Regions from separate parts of the Homo sapiens genome. Here regions 2, 3, 4 and 5 are each linked to region 1. The links are contacts of gene promoters, found by promoter capture Hi-C in human tissues and cell types (Jung and others, 2019). All regions are on one chromosome and are shown on one strand. The core of a region is centred on a gene start or on the middle of the fragment in contact, and the rest is flanking DNA. Distances in the headings are between cores, read along the strand shown.

Region 1 (4,462 bases), core at 802-3,301:
AATAAGGAAACTGAGGCACAGCTATAAAGCAATGTCCTGAGACTGGCACCTGGGGGCTGCCCTCTTCCTGCCAGACTGAGTGCCTCAGAGTGCTACAACTGACCAGAGGGGAGAAGCCAACTGAGGCAGCCTGTTTACTTCTAAGGGACTAACCCACATGAAAAGACCCAGGCCTCCTGCGCCGGCCTCACGGCCCCTACACGCGTTATCAAGCTTGGAGTCAACTGGACGACCTGCTGTCCCTCAGACAGCTGTGAGTGCCACACTTCACCATACCGGGACAATGTGCCTTTGCATGTGTGTCCTCTGCCCACCCTGGGCCCATGAACAGCTCACTCCCCTTGCAAAACTTGACTGTAACTCCCTCTAGAAGAATTTTTGGACTTTCCTAACTATTACACTTTTTCCTGACCGGGATCTCCTAAGGCACTCAGGTTCCATCTTTGATTTCTTCAAATATTTGTGTTTCTTCCAAGGGCCAAGCATTGGAGATCCAAAAAGGAGCAGCAATTCCCGTCCCCGTCCCAGGCCTTCAGCACAGGGCAGGGAGGTGGATCTGCTCAATACCAGAAGTTTGAGCAACCTGTCCTATTTGGGTTACATAGCTTGGGTGGTGAACCTGAGCTGGCCCTTTAGAGACTTTCGGAGGTAAGGCAGACCTTTTGGACAAACTGAGTTGCAAGAGGCGAAGCAAGGACAACAGCCAGACTGTGCGGGACTCGAACGACAAGCCAAGAAGGTTAAGAATAACAGTATTTAGAGAACACTTGCTGTGTGCTCTATGTGCTATCTTACTTAATTCTCACAAACCACCACGAGGGGTAGGATGTATACTATCATCTCTACTTTTGAAATGAGAAAACTGAGGCTTCAGTGGTGAAGACAAATGTGTCTCTTCTAGGGAACCACACTACCTTATTCTCCCACCCCGGCCCGGGGGTGTGTAATGAGGGACTCCTATCGAAGTCAGCTGTAAGTCTATCTTGCCTATTCATTATACAGGCTGTCGTCTTCGCGCAGTAAGGATAATATGTGTTTTGATTCAAAGACCATCCAGCTTGCACACTGTGATGAACAGAGATCAGGAGCTCATGAAGGCAAGGGCAAGTCTTATTTACCTTTATCTCCCCGAACCTAGAAGCGAGGTCAAACAGAAGCGCTCGGGGTAGCAAGAAGGCTTTGTAGATATTGAAATGTGAATGCATGCCCAGCCCTTACCAGGTGCGTGACCTTAGGAAATGCACTTGTCCTTTCTGTGCCTTAATTTTTTCACCAACCTGCTAATGTATGTTCCTCAGTGAAAATTTAAAAAAAAAAAAGTTAAAAAAACTAGGAAGCAATGAGTTTCCATAGAGTTACTTCCCAAGGAACAAGGTTACGCGCTTCGGGAGAGAGCCGATGAAACATCAAACGCAGCATCCTACACAGCCCCTATCCACCGTCCCCAAACCTGCAGAGCTCAAAGTAAACGCGGAAGGGTTAACAAGCAGCTTGGTCCAGGGCGCCGCCCGAAGTGACTGACTCGGCCTGACCCGGTTGGAGGAGTCGCCGAAATAACACGAGTGCAGGGTCTCCAAGACGGCGAGAGTTTCCAGGTCACTCCAGCTCAGAGAACAGCAGAGGCTTTCGGACTATCAAGTCAGTGCCGTGTGCCTGTCACGGCCTGTGCCGCTCAACGAGGAAACCGACGCACCGAGAAGGACGCAGCCGGCCGAGAGCAGCGTGGGGTCCAGATCCTGCCTTCCGGCTCCCCGTGCGCCCCCCGCTTACCTTCCTGAGGGCCCGTGCGCGAGACACCCCGGGCAGTCCCACGTCGTGGCGCGTCTTCCGGCCCAGGATCTGGAACTTCTGCCTGTTAACTTTCACCTCGAACGGATTGGAGTTGGCCTTCGCCGGGCCCCCTCGCGCTCCCGCCGGCGCCCCGGAGGCCTTCCTTCGCGCCCCGACCTTCTTCGCCTTCGCCATGGCGCGCGCCCCGCTGCGCCCAAGGGCCCGAGACCCGAAGAGAGACAGGCGCGCGCTACCCTAAGACACGTGCCGGGCCGCGGAACCGCTTCCTCGTCTCGCGAGAACAGCGCAGCACCTCCGACTCGCGAGAAGTAAACACCGCGCCCGCAGGCTCGGCTTACTCGCCGATAGGCTCAGCGACTACAACTCCCAGCAGGCCACGCGCCGCGGCCCGCCGTGTACTCTTGGCGCAGGGCCTTCTGGGAGCTGTAGTGCCCCGGCCGCGGCGGCGAGGGGCGCTCCCTCTTCAGCTAAGCCGTTAGCGCCGAGCCCGCCCGGGAGCGGGTCGCCGGCCGCGGCGGGCGCCCCTGCCAGTGAGCCCCTGTCCGAAGTGAGCCACGGCATTGACTCGGGGCTGCCCGGGGGCAGGGCACTGAGGAGGGAGTTGCGCGCGCGAGGCGAGGGCGATGGGGCCAAGAAGAACCGGGGCGATAGCGCGGCAGCGGTGACAGCTGGGACCCGCCGCGGTCGGGCTGCCCCCTCCCCTCGCCCCGACCGCTCCCCTGCTGGTGAGGGCCTGCGGAGGCGGCGGCGGCGGCGCCCTTGGTGGCAGTGGTGGCGGCGGAGCAGCCTCCCGGGATCGTGTCCGGAGCTCGAGGAGAGGGTGGTGCCCGGCGAGCTATGCACGGGGGCGGCGGCGTCTCCTCCTGTTCCGCCTCCTCAGTCTCCTCGGTCTCGCAGAATCCGCCGGCGGCGGCGGCGCCAGGACATGGAGCTCGAGAACATCGTGGCCAACTCGCTGCTGCTGAAAGCGCGTCAAGGTGGGTGCGCGGCAGGCGCCCCCGACCCCCCCCCCAGAGAACCCCGAATCCCGGGGAACCCTGGCCCCCCTGAAGGAACCCGACATCCCCGGAGAACCCCGATTTCCCTGGAGAGCCCCGACACCTCCCACTGGGGGAACCCAGATCTGCACGGAGCCGGAGCCGGGGTCTGTGCAGTGTGGTCAGGCTGCCCGGGCCAGGTCCCAGTCCCCATCTCCTGGCCCAGATGAGAGAAGTCTGCGCTTTGCTCTTCTTAGTCTTGCCCTGTGTCCTTGTCCTGTCCTCTCGGTGTGACCTCGGTGACAGTGTTGCTTCAGGATGCGGCAGGCAGTGTCCTGCTTGTGTTGGACAACCTGTCCCACCAAAAAAGAACGGCGTCTTTATGGTCTTAAGGGGGACAAAGAATAGCAGCCTGGGAACTACTCTGGGCGAGAACCTTCCGATAATGATTGTAGGGCAATGTTATTTTTAACATAGCTGCTTGGTTTTGAGGTTTGATCTGAGGCTCTATGGTGTGTCAAGTGTGCTTTAGCACGACGTGGTCACAGATGGACAAGTTGGCAAAAATTCAGCCTTTTATCATTATTAAAGTGAGGCAGAAATTTAAAAATAGTAATAAGTACTGCATTCATTCACTCCAAGAAAAGAAAAAGCCAAGGCCCAGAATGTGGCAAGGCAAGGGTTAAAAAGAAAAGAAGAACAAGTTTTCTTTTGCTTAGCAAGCTCACTTTAAGGACAGTTATAAGATAACGCTGTTCTGTTTGAGAAGTCGAATCCAAAGGAATAGGCTCCAGACACCCCCCTTCCAGAGCAGGGGTGAAGAAAAAAAAAAAAGAGGACAAATATCTGTGTTTAGCCAGTTCTTGGTTTTTTCTTTCAACGCAGCTACAAGGCCACCAGCTATGCAAGGCCACAAGTTATGCCAAGTCATCAGTTATGCTATAGATTATGTGACCTGTCATTATATGATTAACTGCCTTTGTTTTGCTTCTGTAAGTTTGCTTATAAAAATCCTGCTTAGTCTTTGTTCAAGGCTCAGCTTTTTGGATGTGAATCCACTGAGCTGGTGCGTACCTTAACATAAATATCCTCCTGTTTTCACCCATGCTGGTCTCTCTAGTCCTCTGCATCCCGCCACAAAAGCATCAGTTGGTCCAGCCCTTCAGCGGGAGACCCCCACAATCCTCTGTGCAATCCTCTGTCTCGGACCTCATGTCTCCCTTGCCTGCGTCTCAAGAGAGCTGGCGACAGAGCCTCGGACCTCAAGTCCCTGTGCTAGCCACGGTAGTTCTTCACACCCCGTCACTCTTACGGAATTGCTGATTTCCTCTATTTCCTTGCGTGATGGAGCAGCTCTGCTCGGACTGTGCTCCAGGACAGTGTAAATGCCGACTGAAGATGCCACAGCAGCCGGCGATGCATATTTAAAGGACAGTCTGGAGCCGAAGGTGGCGGCCACGCTTGTAGTCCCAGCTACTCTGGAAGCTGAGGTGGAAGGCTCACTTGGGCCCAGGAGAGTCCAGCCTGGGCAAAACACAGCAAGACCATCTCTTTAAAAAAGTCTAAAACAAAGACTTCATCTTCTCAGTATTTTTGTGCACCAACTCACACTATTTTGAATAGAAGAACTGAGAATGGGTGGGAAGAGAATGGGATCTTTTTCCCTTAAGATAATCAGGGAGTCCCAGAGCAGT
Region 2 (4,715 bases), core at 1,318-3,817, 430 kb before region 1:
TGAGTGCGAGGGTGTGGGACACGGCCGGATCGTCCTAGGGCCCCGTGGATTAGCAAGGCACCGGGACCACTGGAGAGGGCTTAACGGGATAGCAGGGAGAGGGCGGGCTCGGGAAGAGCACCCTTTAGGCGAGGGGTTCTCGGGGAACCGACCGGCGTGTCCCAGCCCCAGGCCCGGTCCAAGATTCGCCGGCTCCGCCGCTGCCTCCGCACCCAGGCGGACCCCACCGCACCGCGCCCGGCTTTCCAGCGCTGCCCGAACCCCCGCCCAGCCCACGAGGCAGGGATTCTGTGGTCCTCACTGAGTCATCTGGACCAGAACTAGACTAGCCCAAGGTCACCGGGCGTTCCTGGCGAGGCCAGGGCCGCGCCGCGCCGCCCCTGGTGCATCCCGGGAGCCGCGCCGGTCTGCGGCACCTGGGCGGCGGACAGGGGCGCGGGCGAGGCGGGCGGGGCGGGCGGGCAGCGGACACCGGTCAGAGAGGCGGAACTCCCTGCCGCCAGCCGTGTAGTTTGCCTCGCGGGCGGCGGCGCGGCCTCCTGCCGGCCTAGCCCTACGCCCGACCACAACGCCCAGAAGGCCGCGCGGCGCGGGCGGGACCTGCGGCGACGAGCGAGGCGGTGACATCACCGCCGCATCCAGCTCCCTGGCCCCAGCTCCTCCCAGCGCCCGGGCCCTCGGCCTCGCAAGGCCTGACGGGAATCGTGGTCCACCCCCGGGTACCCCCAGCTGCTGCACGGGCAGCACGGACTTCAGTTCCCGGCGTGTCCTGCGCGCCGAGGCACGTTAACGGCAGGAGGGGGTGGGCAAGCAAAGGGAAAAGCAGAGCCGGGGGGCGGAGTAAGGCGGGGTGGGGGTGGGGGGTGGGGGCCCACACCCCTCCCCCTCCCCGCTGCTCCTTCCCCCTCCCCCGACGTAAACTGGGATCCCTTTCCCCTTGTGTCCGCCATATTGGACTCTAACTCTGGTCAGCCGCGGCGCCGGGACTGTGGACTCGCGGTTCCTCCCGCCCAGCGGCCTGCCCCGCAGCTCCCGCCCGCCCCAGCCCTCCCCGACCCGGACGCGACCCCGCGCAGCGCCCCCCGGCTGGCCGGAGCGCCCGCCGCCGCGGCCGCCTCAGCCTCCCCGCCTTCCCCGCCCTCCGCCGCCGCCCGCGGCCCCCGCGCCCGCTCTGCGCCCCTCTCCCCGCCCGCCATGAGCCCAGCCGACGCCAAGCGCGGGGCCAAGCGCCGGAAGAACAAGCGGGGCGGCGGCGGCGGCTCGGGCGGGGGTAACGGCGGCGCGAGCAGCGGCAAGGCCGGCCCGGCGGCGGCGCTGCGCGGTTCCCAGGCCGCGGGCCTGGCGGCCCCGGGCAGCGCGGCAGGCCTGGTGGGCGGCGCGGCGGCGGCCAACGGGCCTCTCGGCGCGGGCGCGAGCGCGGGCGGCGCCGCCCCCGGAGGCTACTTCGAGGTAAGCGGCGGCAGCGGGCAGGGGTCGATGGCGGTACGCGGTTGCCGTTCCCTCGCGCCTTGGCGGAGCTCGGCCTCCCGCTGTCGGCCCCGGGCCTGGGAGCGGGATGCTGCGGGCGGGCGGATAACGGGTCCTGCGGCGCTGCGCTTGCCGAGGTCCCGGGGCAGGGCGGCAGGTGGGCCGTGCTCGGCGTGACGCGGCCTCTGTCAGCCTCTTGAGAGGAGAACCTGAGCAGAGGCGGCGGGAGGGCTACACCGGGGCCGCCGCTCACGGCGACGGGCTGGTCCGCAGGCTGGAGCAGCCCCTCAACGGGCGGGGACGTCTCCGGGGTGCAGCTCCGCGCACGGCGCTTCGCCTTCCGCTGGACCCGGCGGGTGATACCCGCGAGGCCCGGGCTTCTGTCGTGGCGCCTCGCCCGCTGCGGCGGTTCCAGAGCGACTGCGATTCCGGGAGTGAGCAAAGCTGCCCTTTCGCTCCCAGGGCTTTGAAATGTTTCTCTGGCCACCTTCGTTATTCCGTGCGCGTGATGATTGAGAAGGGCCTCCCGGAAGTTTTCCTTTGGTCCTCCTATGTGGTTATTTGAAATCTACCTGACAGCCACCTGGAGCTGGCAGCCCTGGCCCCTCCTCCCCCGCTTTGTTAAGTTTTCAGGGGTATTTAGTGGTTTGGTTACTCAGGTATGTATTTAGGGTTCGAACTTAAGGAATTTGAAAGGTGATTTTTTTCAGTTTTGTTTATGAAGACAGCTAGCACACATTGCACCTACCAATTATGGATTCCTGCCACTTTTATTCAACCGTTGGTCACAACATTTCAGAGGGTACACTATTTATAAGTGGGTATGCAATTGGCGCAGTCATTTCCAGTTATCCCATTGTCTGCTGAAAGAGAATAGATTTTTTTTGAAAAGTTGCGTTCTTATAATGTTATTTAAACTCTTAAATTATGTAGTTTTAAAGATATTGCAATTAAAAAATGAAAGAAGCGTTGGGAGTATTTTTGTGCTAAATCATGACACAAATTGTTCTTTTTTTTTTTTTCTTTTGAGAACGGAGTCTCGCTCTGTCGCCCAGGCTGGAGTGCAATAATGGCGCGATCTTGGCTCACTGTAACCTCCGCCTCCCGGGTTCAAGCGATTCTCCTGCCTCAGCCTCTCGAGTAGCTGGGACTACAGGCATGCGCCACCATGCCCGGCTAATTTTTGTAGAGACAGGGTTTCACCATGTTGGCCAGGCTGGTCTCGAACTCGTGATCTCAGGTGATCCGCCCACCTTGGCGTCCCAAAGTGCTGGGATTACAGGTGTGAGCCACCGCGCCCGGCCGTTTTTATTATTATTATATTGTTACATTAGGGTCTTGGGCTGTAGTCCTGGACTTCAGTCTCCCGAGATTGCCCTCATCCAGTATCCTGGAGATCAAAACAGGCCGCAGTTCTTGGGATCAAGGATGAGTCTTGAGCGTTTGGATCTTTGGGGTTTTTAAGGGCAGTGTTTGCTGCTGTCGGGTAGGGGAGGGCGGGGGGGGTTTGCCTGTGCATATCCTTACACAAAATATTGATAATTTTTGGTGTAGCTGGATGTGGAATATATTCATTTCTATTGATTCAATAAAAACCAGTTGGTGGCACAATAAAATTCTTAGTTTTAGCCTTTCATACCATTTCAAGTTTTAATAATTTACATTTGCTTTGCAATACTTAGGTAAAATATAACTTTATTATTTTTATTTATTTTTTTTTGAGACAGAGTCTCACTCTGTCGCCCAGGCTGGAGTGCAGTGGTGCGATCTTGGCGCACCGTAACCTCTGTCTCCCGGGTTCAAGCGATTCTCCTGCCTAACCCTCTCAAGTAGCTGGGACTACAGGTACCTGCCACCATGCCTGGCTAATTTTTTTTGTATTTTTAGTAGAGACAGGGATTCACTATGTTGGGCAGGCTGGTCTTGAAGTCCTGACCTCCTGATCCACCTGCTTTGGCCTCTCAAAGTCCTGGAATTACAGGCGTGAGCCACCGTGCCCAGCCCTGCCTTTATTATTTTTGTCGCGTTATTCAAAATCAGATAACTGTATGCCTATTATTATTAAGATAGGGTCTTGCTATGTTGCCTAGGCTGGCCTTGAGCTTGTGGGCTCAAGGGATCCCTCTCATCTTAGTTTTACTAATTACTAAGGGCACAGACCCTTGCCACTGTGCCCACCTGAGTATTATTTTTGACAGGACTGTGATATTCTGTTAAACTAGTATGCATCAGGGTTTTGTTGTTTTAAAAGAGACACGGTCTCTCTCTGTTGCATAGGCTAGAGTACAGTTGCCTGGTCATAGCTCACTGTAACCTCCAATTTCTGGGCTAAGCAGTCCTTCCATGTAGCTAGGCCTCTAGGTATGTGCCACCATGCCTGGCTAATTTGTTCTTTTAATATAGATACAGGGTCTCACTATGTTACCCAGGCTTGTCTTGAACTCTTGACCTCAAGTGATCCTCCCATCTCTGCCTCCCAAAGTGCTGGGATTACAGGCCTGAGCCACTGCACCTGGCCTATCAAGGTTTTTGACCATGACCCACTCTTATGACCCACTCCAAGAAATAAAATCCGTTAAGATCTAGGAAACATACACATAAACACAAAAATTTCACAAAACATTTTAGGGCCGGGCACCGTGGCTCATGCCTGTAATTCCAGCACTTCGGGAGGCCGAGGTGGGTGGATCACCTGAGGTCAGGAGTTCGAAACCAGCCTGGTTGACAGATGATGAAACCCCAGAGATGGTGAAACCCCGTCTCTACTAAAAATACAAAAATTAGCCAGGTGTGGTGGTATGCACTTGTAATCCCAGCTACTCGGGAGACTGAGGCAGGAGAATTGCTTGAACCTGGGAGATGTAGGTTGCAGTGAGCTGAGATCTAACCATTGCACTACTGCCTGGGCAACAAGAGTGAAACTCTGTCTCAAAAAAAAAAAAAAAATCCCATCCTTGTTGACACGGTGAGACCTCATCTCTGCTAAAAATACAAAAAATGGCCGGGCGCAGTGGCTCACGCCTGTAATCCCAGCACTGTGGGAGGCCGAGGCAGGCGGATCACGAGGTCAGGAGATCGAGACCATCCTGGCTAACACAGTGAAACCCGTCTCTAGTAAAAATACAAAAAATTAGCCGGGCGTGGTGGCGGGCACCTGTAGTCCCAGCTACTCCGGAGGCTGAGGCAGGAGAATAGTGTGAACCTGGGAGGCGGAGCTTGCAGTGAGCCGAGATGGCGCCACTGCACTC
Region 3 (4,795 bases), core at 1,348-3,847, 300 kb before region 1:
CCTGTAGTCTGAGCTCTTCGTGTGGCAGGACCGAGTTGCCATCATCTTGCTTATTTCTAACACATTCAGGGCACATAATGGGCATTCAGTAAATAGTGAATGTTCATCCACTGTATTGACAGATTTAGTCAGAATATCTTGATTTCTCTTTTTACTGTTTATTCATCTCTGTCTTTCATGTGAGAAAAGTACTTGTGATGAGTTTGAGTAAAATAAAGAAATACCTGTTAACATATTTGTAGTATTGTATCTTTATTCTGTTTGCAGATGATGTTTCTCTCATATATATCATTTTAAGAAAGTCTCCTCTTGAAAATGTCTTGTATAATTGTCGCAGGTATTAAAGTTTTTCTTTTTTTTCTGTTTTTTACATCCCCTTACTAGATGACAATGAAAACCAAGCAGCGCATGTTAACAGAAGACTGGGAGCTTTTTAAACAAAGAAGATTCATTGAAGAACAGGTAAGCTTGTCAATAAGAGAGGCAATTAAAGGAAGTAGAAATCTGTCCTGACAGCAAATGACTTCTCTGCATGTTGATGTGCTTTGTTAGAACAGCATTGGAGGACCACATTGGCATGTTTTGCCAGCGTTAAAAACTGTTCAAGATGGTGTTTTTAATCTCAAGATAAACTAATTTTCACCTATTTCCTTATCTTCCATATACGCCTCAAGAAAAACCCATGTGTATTGAGTGGCCTCTCTATCCCACAGCAGCTCTGGGTATTTTGCAAAGGATATTACCTGAGTCCCCACAGTCCCCTATGAGGCAGATGGTGCCATCTGCAGTTTACATATGAAGGAGGGTGTTAGGGTGAGGTTAAGGATGTTGCCTGATGTCCCAGAGCTGGAATGGGGGCCCAGCATCCCCAGACAGAGCGCTCAGATCTCCAGACATTGCCAGGTGCCATGCCTTCAACATGGCAGCTGGCAGATCTGGACTCTCCCTTCCTCATCTTCCTGGCGGTGCCTCCTCCAGGCAGGCTTGTGCTCCACCTTTGCTGGAGCTGTTGGGCAGAGCTTGCTAGTGATGTCCTGTATCTGGTCTGGGGGCCCTTGGCTTCATCTGGAAACTTGGCTTCCCCTGATCTCCCATCCACGTGCCACATCGACTCTCTTCCTGTTCTCTGACACTTCTCTCCATCTCCTTTACGAACTCCAACTTCATTGGTCTTTCTGCAAATATTGGTGGTTCCCTGGCCTTGACCCCATGCCTGTCTCCACATTTGCATGCCCGTGGTCTCCTCTGGGCACCACAGGTATACAGATGGCACCAGTGTTGTGGCATGCTTACCTCTTCCCTTTCCCCATTCTGCATGTGTCCCTGTGCTTTTGTTGTTGTTGTTGTTTTGAGACAAAGTCTCACTCTGTCGTCCAGGCTGAAGTGCAGTGGCGTGAACTCGGCTCACTGCAACCTCTGCCTCCCGGGTTCAAGCGGTACTCGTGTCTCAGCCTCCTGAGTAGCTGGGATTACAGGTGCCAGCCACCACGCCTGGCTAATTTTTGTATTTTTAGTAGAGATGGGGTTTCACCATGTTGGCCAGGCTGGTCTCAAACTCCTGACCTCAGGTGATCCGCCTGCCTCTGCCTCCCAAGGTGCTGGGATTACAGGCGTGAGCCACCTTTCCCGGCCATCCCGTCCTTTTGAGTGGCCCTTCCAGCTGCCACCTGTCCCATTGCCAGAGTGGGTCCAGAGTTCCTTCTCCTTTGAAATGCAGATGCTCACCTTGTCTGTTAGAAGTTGAGGTGCCATTTCCTCAATAGCTCCGAGGCCGACCCCTTGCCCTCCACGTGCCACTTTTCATTCCTACAGCTCTGTTCTCAGTACCTTGCAAGTACCAAGCACATGGCAGACAGGGTAAAGGCCGGGTTTCTGCATCAGGTGTGTGCTGTGAGGGCGCACTGCAGCATGTTTGCTGAAGACAAAAGCGATTAGGGTCTCCTGGTACCCGAGCCCTTTGCAGCTCAGCCCCCAGCTTGCTGCCGACTCCAGGTCTGCTGCCCCTGTATTCCTGGTCCTGTCCCGCTGAGGAAGCAGTGCCCGTGAACATGATACATGTCAGCAGAATTACTGAAAAATAATGAGCCATGTCTCGGGGAAGGGTCTTGCAAGATTAAAGCATTTTAAAATTTCCTCTAGTTAACCAATAAGAAAGCAGTTACTGGCGAGAACAACTTCACAGACACCATGAGGCACATGTTATCGTCCCGGCTGAGCATGCCCGACTGCCCCAACTGCAACTACAGGAGAAGGTAAGGCTGGGTTGTGGTGTCAGCACGACTGGCCCATTGGACCTTCACTGGGCTGAGTGGAGGCCTAGAACCGACCCTTAGAGAGCATGGTCTAGTCTTGTGCATTGGTTGGCTTGGTAACTGTCCTTAATTCCTGATCAGATGTGCTTGCGATGACTGCAGTCTCTCACACATCCTCACGTGTGGTATCATGGACCCCCCCGTCACTGATGACATCCACATTCACCAGCTCCCACTTCAAGTGGATCCTGCTCCTGACTATCTTGCTGAGAGGAGCCCGCCCAGTGTGTCATCTGCAAGCTCGGGGTCCGGCTCCAGCTCTCCCATCACAATTCAGCAGCACCCCAGGCTCATCCTCACAGACAGTGGCTCGGCACCAACTTTGTAAGTTGTGACTTTGTAATAAAGTTTCCGAAATTTAAGTCGCCCCAGTAATGAGAAATACATACAGTAATGTCCACAGAAGTATGAACATCATTATTGTGCTTTTCATGACAAGGGACCCTGAGGTTTTTAATGCAGCTTTTAAAACATGAAATCAGTAAACCCAAACTTTTAACACTGTTTATCTGGGAAAAAAAAAACATGGTAAATTAATAAAGGCCAGTAAAGAAAAAACATGTTGGTATGCAGAGAAGAAGTGTCTCTAATTCCGGCCTCACATCTCCTCATTCTCCTAAAGGGTGACCAGTCCGCCGTCTGTCCTGTCTCCCTGTCAGCCCAGCACTCATGCTTGTTTCATGTCTTGCTAAGAACTCAGGTGATCGCTTTAGCAAGCAGTTGAAGGTTTCTGTTTTTCATGTTCCCGCATGATTAGAAGTACATTGTTGTGCAGCTGTCACCAATTCACATTGTAGTTGGCTGTTCCCAGATTTCTTCAGAGTTGTGACCCTGTCATTTGGGGAGGCTTCACATGCTAATTTCCAAAAGGGTTGCACTTGATCATATGTAGTTGCCAAAGTCAGCTTAGGTTTAGTTTACGTGTATCGTAGAGCACACAGGCATCATGTTCCATGTGGAAGTGTGCAGTGGGAGAGATTGTTGTTCCTGACCTTGGCTATGCAGCGTTTCTGGGATTTCTCTGACCAACTGACTTGTGTTCATTCCTTCTGTCTGGATTTCTCATGGTGACTGACGTTTTCCTTCAGTCTTTCCATTTTCAATTTGGGCTTGTTCTCAGACAAAATAATTCTGAAAGGACTGGTTTAAACTCACTGACTCTCTTCATACAAAGATTGCAGGCTGCTGTTTATTGCCTTAGAGACACTGTGTACTCTCCAGGGCACAAGAAAGAGTGTTGACATTTTTGCAGCTGGCTGTTATCCAACTTCTTACTGAAACATAAAAATTAAACATATATAGCCTAATGAAAATTTAAGATGGAAAATTTCATCCCTGTTCATTTGTCACAGCTGCTGATGTCAGTTATGGTCTCTTGTGTCACGTGTGGTAGTGGAAGAAATTGGCTGTGGGAGCCTTTCTCCTTGGGCCGGAACTGCCCATCACCAGTTACGGGGAGCCTAGGTTCTCGGGACATCTGGGCCTTCAGCAGCTTGTGATCAATGTCTTCCAAATGTAAACTATGATTTGAAAATCTCCAGTGTTATCTTTTCATTTGTATTGTCTCTTTCTTGGTGCCTTTTCTAAGTTGGTTAAAAAGAACAATGTGATTGTAGTCAGTGTACCACACAGTACTTCCTGGATCTTATGGGTTGGATCTTTACGGAGCTAGGGCTGGTGAAGCCTCCTGCTGTCACATGGAGCAAATGGCTGAGTTACTTCACTAGAACCTCAGTTTTCTCATCTGTAAATTGTGCCTATGGTCATCCTCAGGAGTGTGTATGAGCATTGGCCCAGGCAGCGTCCCAGGTGCAGTGGGCCTGCAGGAAGCCCTAGGACTCTGCACCTTGTGGGTGCTGTTTGTACTTACCTCTGGTGAGCTCCAGACTCTAGCACGTTACTTGTAATGTGTTGAAAAGACACCGGAATTTGGTAGTCCTGGACACTCTTCACTCATTCTAGGAAGTGAGATCACGACGAGTTCCTAGGGTTTTGCCTTCTGGAGGTTGCTGTGTGCCCAGGCTGAAGATGGACTCAGTGCATGTTTTTGTGGACCTTGGAGCATCTTATTGCACTGAGCTTAAATGTGCCAGCTCTTTTAATGCACCAGAGCTGCATCTTAAGTGGTCTCTGTAGGCTAAAGCCTTGAAATCTGTTTAAAATTAATTTCAGGCCGGGTGCAGTGGCTGATGCCTGTAATCCCAGCACTTTGGGAGGCCGAGGCGGGCGGATCACGAGGTCAGGGGATTGAGACTATCCTGGCTAACACAGTGAAACCCCATCTCTACTAAAAATACAAAAAATCAGCCGGGCGTGGTGGCGGGTGCTTGTAGTCCCAGCTACTCGGGAGGCTGAGGCAGGGGAATGGCGTGAACCTGGGGGGTGGAGCTTGCAGTGAGCCGAGATTGTGCCACTGTACTCCAGCCTGGGAGACAGAGCAAGACACTGCCTCAAAAAAATAATAAAATAAAATAAAATTAATT
Region 4 (4,821 bases), core at 1-2,500, 450 kb before region 1:
AACCTTGGAGTCAGTCCACTCATAAAATATGGTAACACCCATTTTAAAATTTAAGTTTTGTCCTTAAAGACAACTTCAGTGGTTAATTATAAAAGTTGTGTTACTTCGTCCTAAATTAAATTGATAGAAAGATTTAAAAATGTGTTTTGTTTCTACTATTCAGAAACTGCGAACTAGGGAAAGGTTGGTATGAAGAAATGTCTTTCCTTTTTTCAATGTACATAGTTCAACTCTTTCTTTGTTACATTTAAACTATATCCATGGATATCAGTCTGCTTTGGACTCCTCTGCTAGTGTTACAGATGGAAATAAAACCATTAATTTGAACCAAATATCTTTTACACATTCATTTGCTCTTTGGAATCAATTTCCCCCCTTTTTGCCAAGGTGCGGGGTTCTTATCTGCCTCACGTTGAGTGTATTTTGCATTGGTGTGTGTTCAGGAAGTTTCCATGTCCTAAATCCAGCAAGCATGTGAGAGGCTGTTCTTGGAGCACAGCCACAAGCCCAAGCCCTGGAGTCCCTAAGAGAGCAGAGTCTACTCTGAGAGGCAAGGTTGACCAAGGAGCTGTCTGCTCAGCTCGGCCAGTCTCTCAGAGGTGCTGGGGGTGCTGCTCTGAGTGGGATGGACTGAGATTGCCCTGGAAACCTTGCACTGCAGCACCCCCCTTTGCCCCTGACCACCTAGATACAAAATTTGCCCTCTGAGTGGGAGTCAGCACTGGGAGTGCATGGATATGCCAGCCACTGCCACAGGCGAGCAGTGCCAGCAAAGCCACAAGGAGGGAATGGGCTTGGCAGTGTGGCCAAGCTCTCCCTTTGCCTCTGCCCTCTGTACCTATCCAGCTGTCCCCAGGGACTAGAAAGGCTAACATGCTGGCTGCCTGGGTCCCAAAGGCCTACCATCCAGTGCAGTTTGCTTACCATGCTCCTGGCACTGCACTTTTGGCTCTGTGGGCAGTGAGACAGACATCATGGAACATGTTTACAGAGGAGACAGTCCCCCAGGCCACTGGAAAATTGAAACTGATGAGGGTGGGGTACGGGAAACCAGGAGATCCAGCAGGAAGAAGTTGAAGCTGTCCAGAAAGCTCTCTCTGAATAAGGGCTGCTAAGTTGCCATCTTCAAGGTCCAGAAAGCTCTCTAGGGAAAGAGGAAAGAATTCCAGAGACCCCAGGCCAGGCCTGTGAAAGTTATGAGAAAGAGCTTCTTGCTGGCATACAGTAGGGTCTGCAGGCTCCCCGATACCTAAAGGCATTGGACCAGACACTTCTGGTGGCTACCCAGGGCCTGGCAGTTCTTTACCCCAGGAGCAAGCCTAGGGGAGGCAGGGAGCAGTGTATCCCTAAGACTGGTACTGCTGGAGTGGGTCTGGTCCTGGAAAGGAGGGAGCCCCCAAGGCTGGCTATAGAAACTCAAAAGATGTCTGTATTAACTTTTTCGGTGGGGGGGTGGTTTTGTTTTGTTTTGGCAGCATAGAAACAATTGATTCTCTATATTGTGTATCCAGAATCCTTGCTATTTTTTTTTTTTTCCTAAGACGGAGTCTGGCTCTGTCGCCCAGGCTGGAGTGCAGTGGCTCGATCTCAGCTCACTGCAACCTCCGCCTCCCAGGTTCAAGCGATTCTCCTGCCTCAGCCACCCAACCAGCTGGGATTACAGGGACGTGCCACCATGTCCAGCTAATTTTTGTAGTTTTCGTAGATACGGGCTTTCACCATGTTGGCCAGGCTGGTCTCAAACTCCTGATCTCAAGTGATCCGCCCGCCTCGGCCTCCCAAAGTGTTGGGATTACAGGCGTGAGTCACCACTCCCAGCCCCAACTCTATTTTTTTTTTCTTTTTTCTTTTTTTCTATTTTTGTAGAGACGGGGGTCTCATCACGTTGCCCATCCTGGTCTTTAACTCCTCGCCTCAGGCGATACTCCTACCTCAGCCTCCCAAAGGTGCTGGAATTAAAAGTGTGCGCCACCGCGCCCAGCCTAGCCCAGTACATTATTATTACACACAAATGGTGTTTGTGTTTTAGTGTTTCATCAAGAAAGATGTTTGCTGTAGGTTCTAGTTAGATAACTGTCAGATGAGGGAGGTTCATTTTCCTACCATGAGATAAGCATTTATCTTTTTTTTTTTTTTTTTGAGACGGAGTTTCACTCATCGCCCAGGCTGGAGTGCAGTGGTGCAATCTCTGCTCACTGCAGTCTCCGCCTCCTGGGTTCAAGCAATTCTCCAGCCTCAGCCTCCCGAGTAGCTGGGATTACAGGCATGCACCACCATGCCCGGCTAATTTTTGTATTTTTAGTAGAAACGGGATTTTACCATGTTGGCCAGGCTGCCCTCAAACTCCTGACCTCAGGTGATCCGCCTGCCTCGGCCTCCTCAAAAGTGCTGGGATTACAGGCATGAGCCATGACACCTAGTGGCATTTGTCTTCAATTTCTGTTTTTTGTTTTTGTTTTTTTTTAACGAGACAGATTCTTGCTCTGTTGCCAAGGCTGGAGTGCAGTGGCACAATCTCGGCTTACTGCAACCTCCACCTCGGGGTTCAAGCGATTCTCCTGCCTCAGCCTCCTGAGTAGCTAGGCATGCACCAGCACGCCTGGCTAGTTTTTGTATTTTTAGTAGAGACAGGGTTTCTCTATTTTTGTTTTTGGTCACAAGTGAATGTTCAATCTTACCAGTCCTTTTTCTGCTTCTATTGAGACAAGATTTGTTTGCCTCTCTAATCAGTTAATGTATTGGGTAACATAGTTATATGTTGTTTAACTACAGGGATATGTTCTTTTTTTTTTTTTTTTTTTTTTTTTTTTTTTTTTTTTCCAGAGACAGATTTTCACTCTGTCACCCAGGCTGGAATGCAGTGGCATGATCTCAGCTCACTGCAGCCTTCACCTCCCACATACAAGCGATTCTCCTGCCTCAGCCTCCAGAGTATAGCTAGGATTACAGGTGTGCACCACCATGCCCAGCTAATTTTTTCTGTTTCTAGTAGAGACAGAGTTTCACCATGTTGGCCAGGCTGGTCTCGAACTCCTGACTGCAAGTGATCCACCCACCTCAGCCTGCCAAAGTGCTGGGATTACAAGCGTGAGCCACTGCGCCCCACCTTACAGGGATATGTTCTGAGAAATGTGTTGTTAAGCTGGGCTCTGTGGCTCACGCCTGTAATCCCAGCACTTGGGGAGGCCGAGGTGGGTGGATCACGAGGTCAGGAGTTCAAGACCAGCCTGGCCAAGATGGTGAAACCCGTCTCTACTAAAAATACAAAAGTAGCTGGGTACGGTGGCAGGCGCCTGTAATCCCAGCTACTTGGGAGGCTGAGGCAGGAGAATCTGTTGAACCTGGGCAGCAGAGGTTGCAGTGAGGCAATATTGCGCCACTGCACTCCAGCCTGAGTGATAGAGTGAGACTCCATCTCAAAAAAAAAAAAAAAAAGACAAAAAGAAATGTATTGTTAGGCAATTCTGCTGTTGTATGAACATTGTACAGTGTAATGTGTAATTAAACCTAGATTGCAGAGCCTACTACACATCTAGGCTATGTGATATAGCCTACTGCTCTGGGCTACAAACCTGTACATGTTACTGTACTGAATACTGAAGGCAGTTGTAACACGATGGTAAGTATTTGTGTATCTAAACATAGAAAAGGTACAGAAAAGGCAGGGCGTGGTGGCTCATGCCTGTATTCCCAGCACTTTGGGAGGCCAAGGCAGGCAGATCACCTGAGGTCAGGAGTTCGAGACCAGCCTGACCAACATGGAGAAACCCCATCTCTACTAAAAATACAAAATTAGCCAGGCGTGGCGGCACATGCCTGTAATCCCAGCTACTCAGGAGGTTGAGGCAGGAGAATCGCTTGAATCTAGGAGGCAGAGGTTGCAGTGAGCCGAAATCATGCCATTGCACTCCAGCCTGGGCAACAGAGACTCCATCTAAACAAAAAAAGAGAAAAAATGGAGGCTGAGTGCAGGGGCTCACACCTGTAGTCCCAACACTTTGAGAGGCAGATGTGGGAGGATGGCTTGAGCTCAGGAGTTCAAGACCAGCCTGAGCCACATAGTGAGACCCTGTCTCTATTATTATTATTATTATTATTTTTTTTTTTTTGAGATGGAGTCTCGCTCTGTTGCCCAGGCTGGAGTGCAGTGGGCGATCTTGGCTTACTGCAAGCTCCACCTCCCAGGTTCACGCCATTCTCCTGCCTCAGCCTCCCAAATAGCTGGGACTACAGGCGCCCGCCACCACACCTGGCTAATTTTTTGTATTTTTAGTAGAGACGGGGTTTCACCATGTTAGCCAGGATGGTCTCGATCTTCCGACCTCGTGAGCCGCCTGTCTCGGCCTCCCAAAGTGCTGGGATTACAGGCGTGAGCCACTGCGCCCAGCCATGTCTCTATTATTTTTAAAAAATAACAATTAAAAACAAAAACCGTGTACATTAGCCTAAGTCTACACAGGGTCGGGGTCATCATCATCACTGTTTTCCACCTCTTCCTCTTGTCCCACCAGAAGGTCTGTAGGGCCGATAACACGTGGAGCTCTCATCTGCGGTGACGGTGCCTCTGGAATACCTCCTGAAGAACCTGTGAGACTGTTTTGCAATTGACTTCTTTTTTTTTTTTTTTTTTTTTTTTTTGGAACAGCATCTTGCTTTGTCACCTGTGTTGGAGTGTGGTGGCACAATCATGGTTCATTGTCATTGCAGCTTTGACCTCCCGGGCTCAAGTGATCCTCCCACCCCAGCCTCTCAAGTAGCTGGGACTATAGGCACCAGGCCTAGCTAATTTTGTTTATATTTTACAGAGGCAAGGTCTCACTG
Region 5 (4,474 bases), core at 737-3,236, 400 kb before region 1:
ATATGGATATTCTAGCGAACCTTGGTATATTTGTCAAAACTAAGAAATTAGCATTGGTACAACATTATTAACTACAGATTATTTGGATTTTTAAAATGTCCTGTTTCTGTTCCAGGATCTAATCCAGTACACCACAGTGCATTTAGCAGCCCAGAATTTTCATTCTTTTTAGTTTTCTCACCTATGAAATGGTGAAGCTTTTTATTTTCTTCAAAGGATTCCTGAGAAGCTAATTAATATTCAGATTTATAGTATGGTAGTAATTTCATGCTCATGCTAAAATTCAGTAAAATGGTTAACTTTTGGCTGGGCACGGTGGCTCACGCCTGTAATCTCAGCACTTTGGGAGGCTGGGATGGACGGATCATGAGGTCAGGAGATCAAGACCATCCTGGCTAACATGGTGAAACACTGTCTCTACTAAAAATACAAAAAATTAGCCAGGTGTGGTGGTGCACGCCTGTAGTCCCAGCTACTCGGGAGGCTGAGGCAGAAGAATCGCTTGAACCCAGGAGGCAGAAGTTGCAGTGAGCCAAGAACGTGCCACTGCACTCCAGCCTGGGTGACAGAGTGAGACTCCGTCTCAAAAAAAAAAAAAGTTAACCATTTAATAGTGTACTACAAGGCTGGGCGCTATGGCTCATGCCTGTAATCCCAGCACTTTGGGAGGCCGAGGTGGGTGGATCAGTTGAGGCCAGGAGTTCAAGACCAGTCTGGCCAACACGGTGAAACCCCGTCTCTACTAAAATATGAAAGTTAGCTGAGTGTGGTGGCGCATGCCTGTAATCTTAGCTACTGGGAAGGCTGAAGCAGGAGAATCGCTTGAACCGGGGAGGAGGTTGCAGTGAGCCTAGATCGTGCTACTGTATTTCATCGTGTTTGACAGAGCGAGACTGCATCTCAAATGAAAAAAAAAAAAAAGGAAAGAAAAAAATAGTGTACTACAATCTAATTACTTTTCCTAAAAATACTTGGTAATTATTTCACTTAGGTGAAAGTAGCCCACCAAGGCAAACATTGTCTACGAGTTACTAGTTAGAGTACAGTCCCTATTGCCCAGGCTGGAGTGCAATTCCGCCGTCATAGCTCACTGCAGCCTCCAACTCCTAGGCTCAAGAGATCCTCCCACGTCAGGCTTTCAAGTACCTGGGACTACAGGCACGGGCCACCACACCCAGCTAATCAAAATTTTTCTGGGGGGGATGAGATCTTGTATGTTGCCTAGACTGGTCTCAAACTGTTGGCCTCAAGCAATCCTCCTGCCTTAGCCTCCTGGGTATTTGGGATGACTGGGATCACAGGCGGGAGCCACTGTACCTAGCTGTTTCTGTCTTTAAAAGCACACAAAATCAGGCTGGGTGCAGTGGCTCACGCCTGTAATCCCAGCACTTCGTGAGGCCGAGGTGGACAGATCACTTGAGGGCAGAGGTTCGAGACCAGCCTGGCCAACATGGTGAAACCCCGTCTCTACTAAAAATACAAAAGTTAGCTGTTCATGGTGGCATGTACCTGTAATTCCAGCTACTCAGGAGGCTAAGGCAGGAGAATTGCTTGAACCCAGAGGGTGGAAGTTGCATGAACTGTGATCGTGCCACTGCACTCCAGCCTGGGTGACACAGTGAGACTCCATCTCAAACAAAAACAGAAACAAGAACAGCATAGGAAGACGGCTATAGCTATTGTTAATATTTTTCCTTCCTTTAAAAGAATAATGGGAGGGTTTGGATCAATGATTTCAATTAAATACCGCTGCACAAACTGAATTGAACTGTTCTTTGTGTGTTTGTACATTTACAGATGTCCACACCTGTATTCCACTGGGAATGCTAAGATGGTCAAATCATAGATGCATAGAACTTCAGAACTGGAGGGGACAACGACAGAGCCCCTGTTTATTGCCAAGACAGTATTTGTTAGCTGAGGAAACTGAGGCCCGAAGACTTGAGTTTGAAAAATTCCTCTAATTGTTGTAGTCGGTGTCCCCTCACATACCTTTCAATTTCTGTGGCTTTTGTCACTTCTCAGTACCAACTGAGATAAAGAAACCACCTTGCTATTCTTTTTAAATTTTTATTTATTTCAGAGACAGGGTCTTGCTCTGTCACCCAGTCTGGAGTGTAGTGGCACAATTATAGCTCATTGTCAACTTGACTTCCTGGGCTCAAGCAATCCTCCCACCTTGGTCTCCCAAAGTGCTGGGATTACAGGCGTGAGCCACTTTGCCCAGCCCTGTCCTGCTAGTCTGGTCTTCCTTACTCTCGCCGTAGTCTACTGCATTTTCTCTTCTCTGTGAACACACTCTGCTGCTTCCTCCTCCCTCTGGATGTCTTCCACCTGCCTTTGTACGTGAGCACCAGGACGTCTTGAGCTTTCTTTGACGGCCCCTCTCTTGTTCCTGCCAGACTCCGGCTGCACGGACAGCTGAGCGTCCTTGCCGTTCGCTTCCTTTTGCCTTGCTGTTCCACTGCTGTTGCGGTGCCTGTTGGGTGCTGCGGTGATCCTGACCTGCTTGTGTAGTGCGGCCTGCGTGGCCTGATCGGGCCGGGTTTTTCTTGCCTCTGCGCCTTTGTGCACGCTTTTCTTTTCTTTTCTTTTTTCCTTTTTTTTTTGAGATGGAGTTTCACTCTTGTTGCCCAGGCTGGAGTGCAGTGGTGCGATCTTGGCTCACTGCAAGCTCTGTCTCCCTGGTTCAAGCCTGCCGAGTAGCTGGGATTACAGGTGCCTGCCACCACACCCAGCTAATCTTTTGTATGTTTAGTAGAGATGGGGTTTCGCCATGCTGGCCAGGCTGGTCTCAAACTCCCGACCTCAGGTGATCCACCCGCCTCGGCCTCCCAAAGTGTTGGGATTACAGGTGTGAGCCACCGCGCCTGGCCTGTGCAGGCTTTTCTTTCCAGTGAGTTCTTCTGTCTTTGCCTGATTCGCCCCTTTCTGAGATGGAGACCATGCGCTGTCCCCATGGGAAGCATTTCTTCACCGTCCGAGGCCAGGCTGTACCTTCCCTTCTGAGTTCCTGTGGTGCCTGTCCTGGCTCGGCCACACCACTTAGACTGGATTGGAACATCTAAACTGCGCTGTGGCCTGCTTGGCACATAGTACATAGGCAGAAACATTGCTCAGGGAGCCAGGCCATTTGATGTGAGCTTCTGCATTTCTTCCCTCTTCACCTTTCTTTGGGACGTCTTTTGTCTTTTGATTTGGAAGAAAGCATCTATCCATTTTTCCAAAGTTAACTGCGTGCTCCAGGGGTTGTTAACTGATGGTTTTTAATGAGTCTGTTAATTCATGGAAACTCAGTGCAGAATTTATGTGTAGTACGTTATCTTGAGGCTTCTGCAAAACAGCTTTGTCGTTTCTCTCCTGTGTCTTGAATCTTTCCACTTCTGTTGGGTTATTTTCCTTTGTATTCAGATTGTGTCTTTCTTCCCTTCCTCTTCCTCAGTGTTTTTATTTTTAGTTTTTGTGGAGGCAGGAGCTCACCATGTTTCTCAGGCTGGTCTCGAACTCCTGGGCTCAAGTGATTCACCTCACCTGCCTCAGCCTCCCAAAGTACTGGGATTACAGGCATGAGCTGCTGCACCTGGCTCCCTTTGAGCTTTTGGCACATGACTGTGATATCCACCTTTCTAGAACTTTCTTTGCCTTCCTGTGCATGGCACCATGCCATTGTAGTTCTCCTCCTGACTCTTGCTTTGCTTACTCTCCAGGCTTTGGTGAACTTTTATGTCCTTACAACACCTTGCTGTAGGTTATTCTATGTTGAGTTCTTCCTCTCAAGTTCACACTTAATATGTTAGGCATATATGCTGGTAGAGATTTCTTTTTTCTTTTTTGAACAGGATCTCGCTCTGTTGCCCAGGCTGGAGTGCAGTGGCGCAGTCTCAGTTCACTGCAGCCTCTGCCTTCCGGGTTCCAGGCAGTTCTCCCATGTCAGCCTCCTGAGTAGCTGGGAGTACAGGTGCGTACAACCATGCCCGGCTAATTTTTATATTTTTTGGTAGAGACAGAGTTTCACCATGTTGGCCAGGCTGCTCTCAAACTCCTGCCCTTAAGTGATGGGCCCGCCTTGATCTCCCAAAGTGCTGGGATTACAGGCATGAGCCACCATGCCTGGCTGCTTGTAGAGATTTCTTTTTTTTTTTTTTTTTGAGACCGAGTCTCACTTTGTCGCCCAGGCTGGAGTGCAGTGGCGCAATCTCGGCTCACTGCAACCACTGTCTCCCAGGTTCAGGTGATTCTCCTGCCTCAGCCTGCCGAGTAGCTGGGATTACAGCTGCTTGTCACCATACCTGGCTAATTTTTGTATGTTTAGTACAGACGGGGTTTCACCGTGTTGGCCAGGCTGGTCTCGAACTCCTGATCTCAAGTGATCTGCCTGCCTCGGCCTCCCAAAGTGCTGGGATTACAGGCGTGAGCCACCGTACCCGGCTGAGATTTCTGATGACAGAAACTCAAATGGGTTATCAGTAACCCT

Evidence for each region. The method cuts DNA at HindIII sites, captures the fragments that hold promoters and counts their contacts. A contact is called where the count stands out against the background at its distance.
Region 2: a contact is called between a fragment that was not itself captured here and the fragment with the promoter of NOP14 in region 1, in 1 of the 25 tissues and cell types used here (heart left ventricle).
Region 3: a contact is called between a fragment that was not itself captured here and the fragment with the promoter of NOP14 in region 1, in 2 of the 25 tissues and cell types used here (lymphoblastoid cells and spleen).
Region 4: a fragment that was not itself captured here is called in contact with the fragment with the promoter of NOP14 in region 1 in 1 of the 25 tissues and cell types used here (lymphoblastoid cells).
Region 5: a fragment that was not itself captured here is called in contact with the fragment with the promoter of NOP14 in region 1 in 1 of the 25 tissues and cell types used here (hippocampus).

What each region holds. Positions count from the first base shown.
Region 1 is chr4:2,961,355-2,965,816 of GRCh38, forward strand. NOP14 (NOP14 nucleolar protein) reads right to left here and starts at 2,052. Exons shown (of 18, transcript NM_001291978.2): 1 at 1,771-2,052. The coding sequence starts at 1,965. It overlaps GRK4 (G protein-coupled receptor kinase 4), which reads left to right and starts at 2,217. Exons shown (of 16, transcript NM_182982.3): 1 at 2,217-2,768. The coding sequence starts at 2,717. RefSeq lists enhancers at 610-679, 1,710-2,243, 2,244-2,777 and silencers at 2,240-2,669, 2,840-2,889. The HindIII fragment of the contact is 12,457 bases long and covers 1-4,462 here.
Region 2 is chr4:2,535,722-2,540,436 of GRCh38, forward strand. It overlaps FAM193A (family with sequence similarity 193 member A), which reads left to right and starts at 926. Exons shown (of 21, transcript NM_001366318.2): 1 at 926-1,449. The coding sequence starts at 1,195. RefSeq lists silencers at 190-839, 1,340-1,629, 1,680-1,839, 1,841-2,135, 1,880-1,929 and 2 more. The HindIII fragment of the contact is 7,680 bases long and covers 1-4,715 here.
Region 3 is chr4:2,657,419-2,662,213 of GRCh38, forward strand. FAM193A (family with sequence similarity 193 member A) reads left to right here. Exons shown (of 21, transcript NM_001366318.2): 8 at 385-462; 9 at 2,140-2,252; 10 at 2,394-2,636. Among named protein-coding and RNA genes, the nearest start is that of TNIP2, 97 kb to the right of the region's middle. RefSeq lists enhancers at 1,102-1,603, 1,604-2,103. The HindIII fragment of the contact is 4,879 bases long and covers 159-4,795 here.
Region 4 is chr4:2,515,526-2,520,346 of GRCh38, forward strand. It overlaps RNF4 (ring finger protein 4), which reads left to right. Exons shown (of 8, transcript NM_002938.5): 8 at 1-332. Among named protein-coding and RNA genes, the nearest start is that of FAM193A, 19 kb to the right of the region's middle. The HindIII fragment of the contact is 8,421 bases long and covers 1-4,821 here.
Region 5 is chr4:2,557,367-2,561,840 of GRCh38, forward strand. The region is part of intron 1 of FAM193A (family with sequence similarity 193 member A); the gene reads left to right. Among named protein-coding and RNA genes, the nearest start is that of FAM193A, 23 kb to the left of the region's middle. RefSeq lists an enhancer at 2,646-3,184. The HindIII fragment of the contact is 4,035 bases long and covers 1-4,004 here.